Linked DNA regions of Homo sapiens: region 1 is linked to region 2. The links are contacts of gene promoters, found by promoter capture Hi-C in human tissues and cell types (Jung and others, 2019). All regions are on one chromosome and are shown on one strand. The core of a region is centred on a gene start or on the middle of the fragment in contact, and the rest is flanking DNA. Distances in the headings are between cores, read along the strand shown. Region 1 has its middle 33 kb from the start of PFKP-DT. Region 2 holds the start of IDI1 (isopentenyl-diphosphate delta isomerase 1).

Region 1 (3,439 bases), core at 618-3,117, 2.0 Mb after region 2:
ATAAGTGGGAGCTAAGCTATGAGGATGCAAAGACATACGAATGATATGATGGACTTTGGGGACTCGGCGGGGGGGAAGGTTGGGGTCTGAGGGATAAAAGACTACACCTTGGGTACAGTGTATACTGCTTGGGTGACAGGTGCACTAAAATCTCAGGAATCTCCACTAAAAAATGTGTAAACAAAACTACTTCTACCCCAAAAACTATTGAAAAAAAAAGCATGCCAAGTAAGAAAACAATAAAGTGATGGCAATTCATACCTGAAAGCTGATAACACGGCTGATGACCACTGGCACTGAGGCTGTGTGCTGGTGACTTCAGAAAATCAAGGGTACAACAGCCACCATCTTGGACAGAAAAATCACAGACCAGGATAGGACATGTATGCACCTGCGAGTGCGTATCACCTGTGTATTTTAATAAAATATAAAATACAACATCAGGACCGCCACACAGATGGGACTGTTGTTCAAGAAGCCGGTGATCAAGAGCTGAGCCCATGGAGACTTAAGGAGCAGGTGTTTTTTCCTTTGAGCCCATTGAAGGCTGAGGATACGATATTTCTGCCACCAATAAATAGTTTGTTATTCCATGAATATCTTGGAAGCCATTCTGAAACTGATCAATTCGAGAAAACAAGAGACCGATTACATGTTACAGGGGGGAAAAGTAAATGCAGTAAGACTCACTCACCCTGTGTCTCGCTCAACCAAAGGATGGACATGTCTGATGCATAGAGATACGGCAGTCTATATTTATTGAAGCTGGTAGGATTGGAAAACAAAACAGCATTCAATTATTGACCCAATTGTTTGTGGATGGGGTGGTGATTTCCAGGTCTCTTGTTTGTAGCCACATTTTTTCTATCCCTGTTTGCCTTATTATTAATATTTAATCGATCATTATTAAATAGGTCCTACCAAGTGCTACTAAGAGTCAGGTGCCATCTGTAGTGTTTGGTGTATTTTTTTCTAATTATGTCATTATCCCTACAGGTTGACTTATTTTTATGTCACAGATAAGACAAAGACTCAAAGGAAAGTGACCATGTTTCTGAACTTCGCCCAGCTAATAAGCAGCTGAGCTCAATTCAAACCCAAATCTGGCTCAACAGCCCAAACTCTTTATCCAGAAATTACGTTCTATTACATTTAGAAATATAAAACCAGATCAGGCAGGTGGCTCACACCTGTAATCCTGGCACTCTGGGAGGCCGAGGCAGGCGCATCACTTGAGGTCAGGAGTTCGAGACCAGCCTGGCCAACATGCTGAAACCCCGTCTCTATTAAAAATGCAAAAATTAGCCAGGTGTGGTGGTGTGTGCCTGTAGTTCCAGCTACCCGGGAGGCTGAGACAGGAGAATCGCTTGAACCCAGGAGGTGGAGGTTGCAGTGAGCCATGATCATGTCACTACACTCCAGCCTGGGTGACAGAGTGAGACTCCGTCTCAAAAACAAACAAACCAAAAAAAAAAAAAGAAAGAAATAGAAAACTGACTGCATATCAAGAGGTCCTTAAGAATAACAGCAGAGGCTGTGCTGCAGCCCATGGCCCACGAGCCCAGGGAGGCACAGCCCTGGTGCCATGGACAAATAGGCAGATGGCGTCTCTCTCAGTGTCCTTGTCCAGTGAGTGGGAACACTATGGCACTTTCCTCATGAGGTTATTAGGATGATTACGTAAATTAGAAATGCTAAAGGGCTTGGCGTGGTGCCTGGCACACAGCACAACACTTACAAAAAAAAAATCAGTAAAATAGAAATGTCAGTACAAGAGACAATGCTCACATTGGGATCATGTTACTGAGACCTAGTATTTGCCAGTACCAAACTTCTTTAGGAGAAGATCCCCAGACTGACCAATAGGATTCTAAGTTAGGTCATATTAGGATCTGCCCAGGACTTGCTGGATGTAATTAGTAAAGGTGACCAACTTGGGAGAACAAAAGGTTGTTCGTGGACATTCTTTTACCTTCTATAATAGATAAAGCCTTGTGTTCCTCAGTGCACCCACAGAACTCTTGTGAAAGGAGACTTTAAGGATATAAATTATCTTCTGGATCAAGCATGACTGATTTTTAGAAAAAAGTTTCAACGATGTAAAGGTCAGACATTCATGGTATTCTTGTTCAACAAAGTAGACGCTGAGATACAGTGAAGAGGTATTGTTGGAAGTTCCTCTTTATTGCTATATTATTTTAAATAGTTTTAATAAGAAAATTTGAGGAAACTGAAGTAGTCAAATGAGTCAAAATGCCCGAGTCTTCTGAAGATTAGGAAATCCATGATTCAGGAAAAATAGTGACCCTAATTATTCTCCAGTGGTTTTGGTTCAGCAGTTAATTCCATTTCTCACTGCGATTAAAATAGCTAAAGCTGACAACATGTGCTTTGCATGCCAACTATCTCAACTTCCCCTTCTACAAAAGTAAAACAACCCAAAATTAATAAACAGCAACATTCCAGTGTCCTTCACGATAACATTGAAGCCTGCCCCCTCCTTTAACAGTAACATTGATTGCTCCTATGTCTTGGAGCGTCTTTTCTTAAAAAAAAATTTTAAAAAAAAGTTTGAGTCAAGTCATTCATTTACACATCTGTAGGGGGACTTTTCCTTTCCTTCCACCTCAGTATTTATGGGCCTAATTTATCTATAAACATAGGGACCTCATATCCAGAGAGAACTCCCAGCACCAAAAGATATTCATCAGGATTCAGCATCATCTCACGGAGCTCATTCCAAGAGCTCGGAGTCTTCATTAATTCATTCCCTCTCCAAAGCAAACGTTGTCTTCATTCGATGAAGAGAAACACTTAGGACTGAGTAACGATGGTTGTGAAAAATAAAGCAGCATCCTTATGTATTCGTCTGCTCTCACACTGCTAACAAAGACAGACCCAAGACTGGGTAATGTATAAAGCAAAGAGGTTAAATGGACTTACAGTTTCACGTCGCTGGGGAGGCCTCAGAATCATGGCGGAAGCTGAATGAGGAGCAAAGTCATGTCTTATGTGGCGGCAGGCAAGAGAGCATGTGGGGGGGACGTCCCCTTTATAAAACCATCAGATCTCGTGAGACTTACTGTCACGAGAACAGCACGGGAAAGAACCCTCCCCCATTTTTCAATTACCTCCCACCAGGTCCCTCCCATGACACATGGGGATTATTGCAATTCCAGGTGAGATTTGGGTGGGGACACAGAGCCAAACCATATCACCTCATGTACCACAACACCCTTAGTCAGGAATCTTAAAGACCAATTTCTTAAGGTAGTTTTTAACCTGATGTTTTATATTCCTTGACACCACATCCTTCACTGCTAGATAATGTCAACCCAGTATTTTCAAAGCAATTCATTTAAGTCAAGCTTCATGAAAACAACAACTATACTGGAACAATTGTTTCCTAGTAGTCAATAGAATATGAGCTATAAAGATA
Region 2 (3,249 bases), core at 553-3,052:
ACACCACACAGCCCAGCTGCTCCACTGTCTACACCACACAGCCCAGCTGCTCCACTGTCTACACCACACAGCCCAGCTGCTCCACTGTCTACACCACACAGCCCAGCTGCTCCACTGTCTACACCACACAGCCCAGCTGCTCCACTGTCTACACCACACAGCCCAGCTGCTCCACTGTCTACTGTCTACACCACACAGCCCAGCTGCTCCACTGTCTACACCACACAGCCCAGCTGCTCCACTGTCTGGTCCTTTGTCTACACCACACAGCCCAGCTGCTCCACTGTCTACACCACACAGCCCAGCTGCTCCACCGTCTGTCTACACCACACAGCCCAGCTGCTCCACTGTCTAGGTCTGCGTCAGCGCACTCTGCTTCCACAATGATGAAAGTACCTAACAATGAACTTCTCCAAAGTATCCCTGTTAAGTGATGCGGGCCGAACGTTAAATTATCATCTGTAGATGATCTCTTATAGTATCTAAAACATGTAAATCCTACATAAATAGTTGTGCTGTATTGTTTACAGAATAAGTCTGTATATGTTCAGTACAGATGAAATTTTTTTCCAAATATTTTATAATGTGCAGTTGGTTAAATCCATGGATATGGACCCCAAGGATACAGTAGGCCAACTGTATATTAGGTGATCACTAAGATAGGTTTCGTTACTACATAATTACTAGACTTTTTGACATGACTTTTTTTCCGGGGGGATGGGGCTGGGTCTTGCTATGTCTGTCGCCCAAGCTGGAGTGCAGTGGCGCGATCTCGGCTCACTGCAGCCTTCGACTCCGCCTCCCAAAGTGCTGGGATTAAAGGCGTGCACCACCGCCCAGCTGTAATGACAATTGCTCTTTCAGGATTTTCAGAATTCAGATTTTAAAGCTAAGCTGCATAATCACAAGATAAAATGAATACGTCTATTTATGCGTTTAAAGAATACCATGTAGTAGACGCGGGAACACATCATCCAACCCAAGAAAAAGGTCTAGTTCCATCTATGCGATGCTCCCCATCTCTTCTCCTGCTCCATTCCCAGGAGAAGCGCCTTGAGTGTGTTGCTGTCACCCTCTTGCACGGACGCAGGTGTATGCACCCGCGTCACACGCGTGGACTCGGCACGGGGAGGCCGGTGTCGTCACGCTCGTGTTTCTGACGATGCTGTCTACGCTTGTTTCTGAATTCTCTAAGGGGAGACTCGCAACTCTTAGTCTCCTGCGACTCGGTTTCCAGTTCCACGAGTTCCTAAACCTCAGGTGACTGTGCGCAGACGACGATCTTTTCCGCTGACAAAGAATGGCAACGTCTCTGACGCCCCGACTCACGCCTCCGCCTTCCACGGGGCGCGGGCGCCCACCACAGCCCGGGAAGGCCCGGCCTCCCTCCAGTTCGGGAGACCAACGCCGCCACCCCCAGCTGTCCAGGCCTCCGCGCCGAGACCTCACGGGTGGCTCAGACCTCGGGCCTCCTCCCCGCCCCGTCCCGCAGCTCCCCGATGCCGCCCTGCCCCTGTCTCCCGAACTCCGCCGCCCGTCCACAGTACCTGATCAGCCTCCGGCCACAGACAACCGCCGGTCCCGGATGGCGCCCGCTTTGAGCACAGTCTGCGGCGCGCACCGCCCACTGGCCCCGCCCCCGGGCCGCGCAGCCAATCGCTCGCGCCAGCGCCAGTCCACGCCACATCGCCCGGCCAATTGGCGCCCGTACGCGCTTGACGACACAATCTCGCCAAGCTTCGCCTGGTGGTGCCACCTCCCTGGCCTGTGACAACGGCAGACGCGCGAAGCACCGGGAACCTGAGCCGTGACCGCGGGCTCTGGCGCCTTTAAGGGGGTCAACACGCCCCACCCCCAGTTCCGCAGAGGCAGCGTCCCGCGACTGGGCGGTGCCCGAGACCACAGACGCCGCCAGCCAATCACGCTTTCGATCCTGCCGTGCGAGCCCGAGGCGCTGCGAACGGTGCCTAACGTCAGACGTCTCGAGGCTCGCGTTCCATGGAGGAAGCCCTCCCAATCCGAAAGCGCCCGGGCGCCAAGCCCTGCAGCCGGAAGCTCGGCGTCCCATGGGAGCGACCTCCGCATGGCTGGACCAATGGAAACGGAGGAAAGGCGGGACGTCACTGCTGACTGGCTGGTTGGGCACTCCCCCCCCTCCCCCCCCCCGAGTTCCGCCGCTGGGACTACAGCGTTTGGCTGCACGGGGAGTTCTCGTATGTCTAGAACGATGGCCTTTCTGCGGTGTCTGCGACCGGGACCAAGGCGGAGCAAAGTCGCCGGGGGTGTGGGGTGTTCCACGCTATGTTGGGAGTGTTCGCTTTCGAGGTACATGACTACGTTCTAAATTTTTTTTTTTTGAGACAGTTTCATTCTTGTTGCCCAGGCTTGAGTGCAATGGTGCAGTCTCCGCTCACAGCAACCTCCGCCGCCCGGGTTCAGGCAATTGTCCCGTCTCAGCCTCCCAAGTAGCTGGAATTACAGGCATGCGCCACCACGCCCGGCTTATTTCGTATTTTTAGTAGAGACGGGTTTCCGCATGTTGGTCAGGCTGGTCTGGAACTCCTGACCTCAAGTGATCCACCTGGCTCAGCTTACCGAAGTGCTGAGATTCCGGGTGTGAGCCACCGCGCCTAGCCCTCTAAACTTTTAAATAATCGTGAAATGTATGCGCAGCTGAAGCGAATTCAGCTATTTCCTCTACCTTTTGTGTGGAATTTAAAATACTGAACTTGTGAGATGAACCTGGTGGGCACCAGTTCTCAAACTTCTTGGTCACAGGACGCTTGCACTCTCTTAAAATGTACTGAGGACACCTAAAAGCTTTTGCTCACTGTTGTTTACTACTGCTATTTACTAACATAGAAATTAAACATATTAAAATATTCACTTAAAAAACACACGACACTAACATAAGTTATATTTTTATTAAAAATCTTTTCCAGACAAAAAACAGACTTTGATTTTGTTTTATGTGTTGACAGATCTCTTTCATGTCTGGCTTCACACAGATAAGAAAATCTGGCCTCCCGCATGCGCAGCAAGTCCTCACTGCTGTCAGTGCGTTCTTGGGAATCAGGACTTTTAAGTGAAACAACGTATAGCAAAACCAATTTTACCAGAGGCTAAAAAATAAGGATTAAGTTCCTAAAGCATACTTCTGGCCAAGGAAAAAAAAAATCACTAAGCTTCTAAAGGCCAAAGTATTCTAATATTAAACATTGAAATAAATGTGAGCTATACATACATTTA

The links. Contacts are between HindIII fragments. The study calls those that stand out against the background at their distance.
Region 1: a fragment that was not itself captured here is called in contact with the fragment with the promoter of IDI1 in region 2 in 1 of the 25 tissues and cell types used here (mesenchymal stem cells).

What each region holds. Positions count from the first base shown.
Region 1 is chr10:3,032,517-3,035,955 of GRCh38, forward strand. No RefSeq gene overlaps it. Among named protein-coding and RNA genes, the nearest start is that of PFKP-DT, 33 kb to the right of the region's middle. The HindIII fragment of the contact is 5,516 bases long and covers 1-3,439 here.
Region 2 is chr10:1,047,317-1,050,565 of GRCh38, forward strand. IDI1 (isopentenyl-diphosphate delta isomerase 1) reads right to left here and starts at 1,803. Exons shown (of 5, transcript NM_004508.4): 1 at 1,548-1,803. The coding sequence starts at 1,687. RefSeq lists enhancers at 1,050-1,580, 1,581-2,110, 1,802-1,851, 2,111-2,640, 2,312-2,451 and silencers at 1,392-1,481, 1,492-1,711. The HindIII fragment of the contact is 3,155 bases long and covers 1-3,002 here.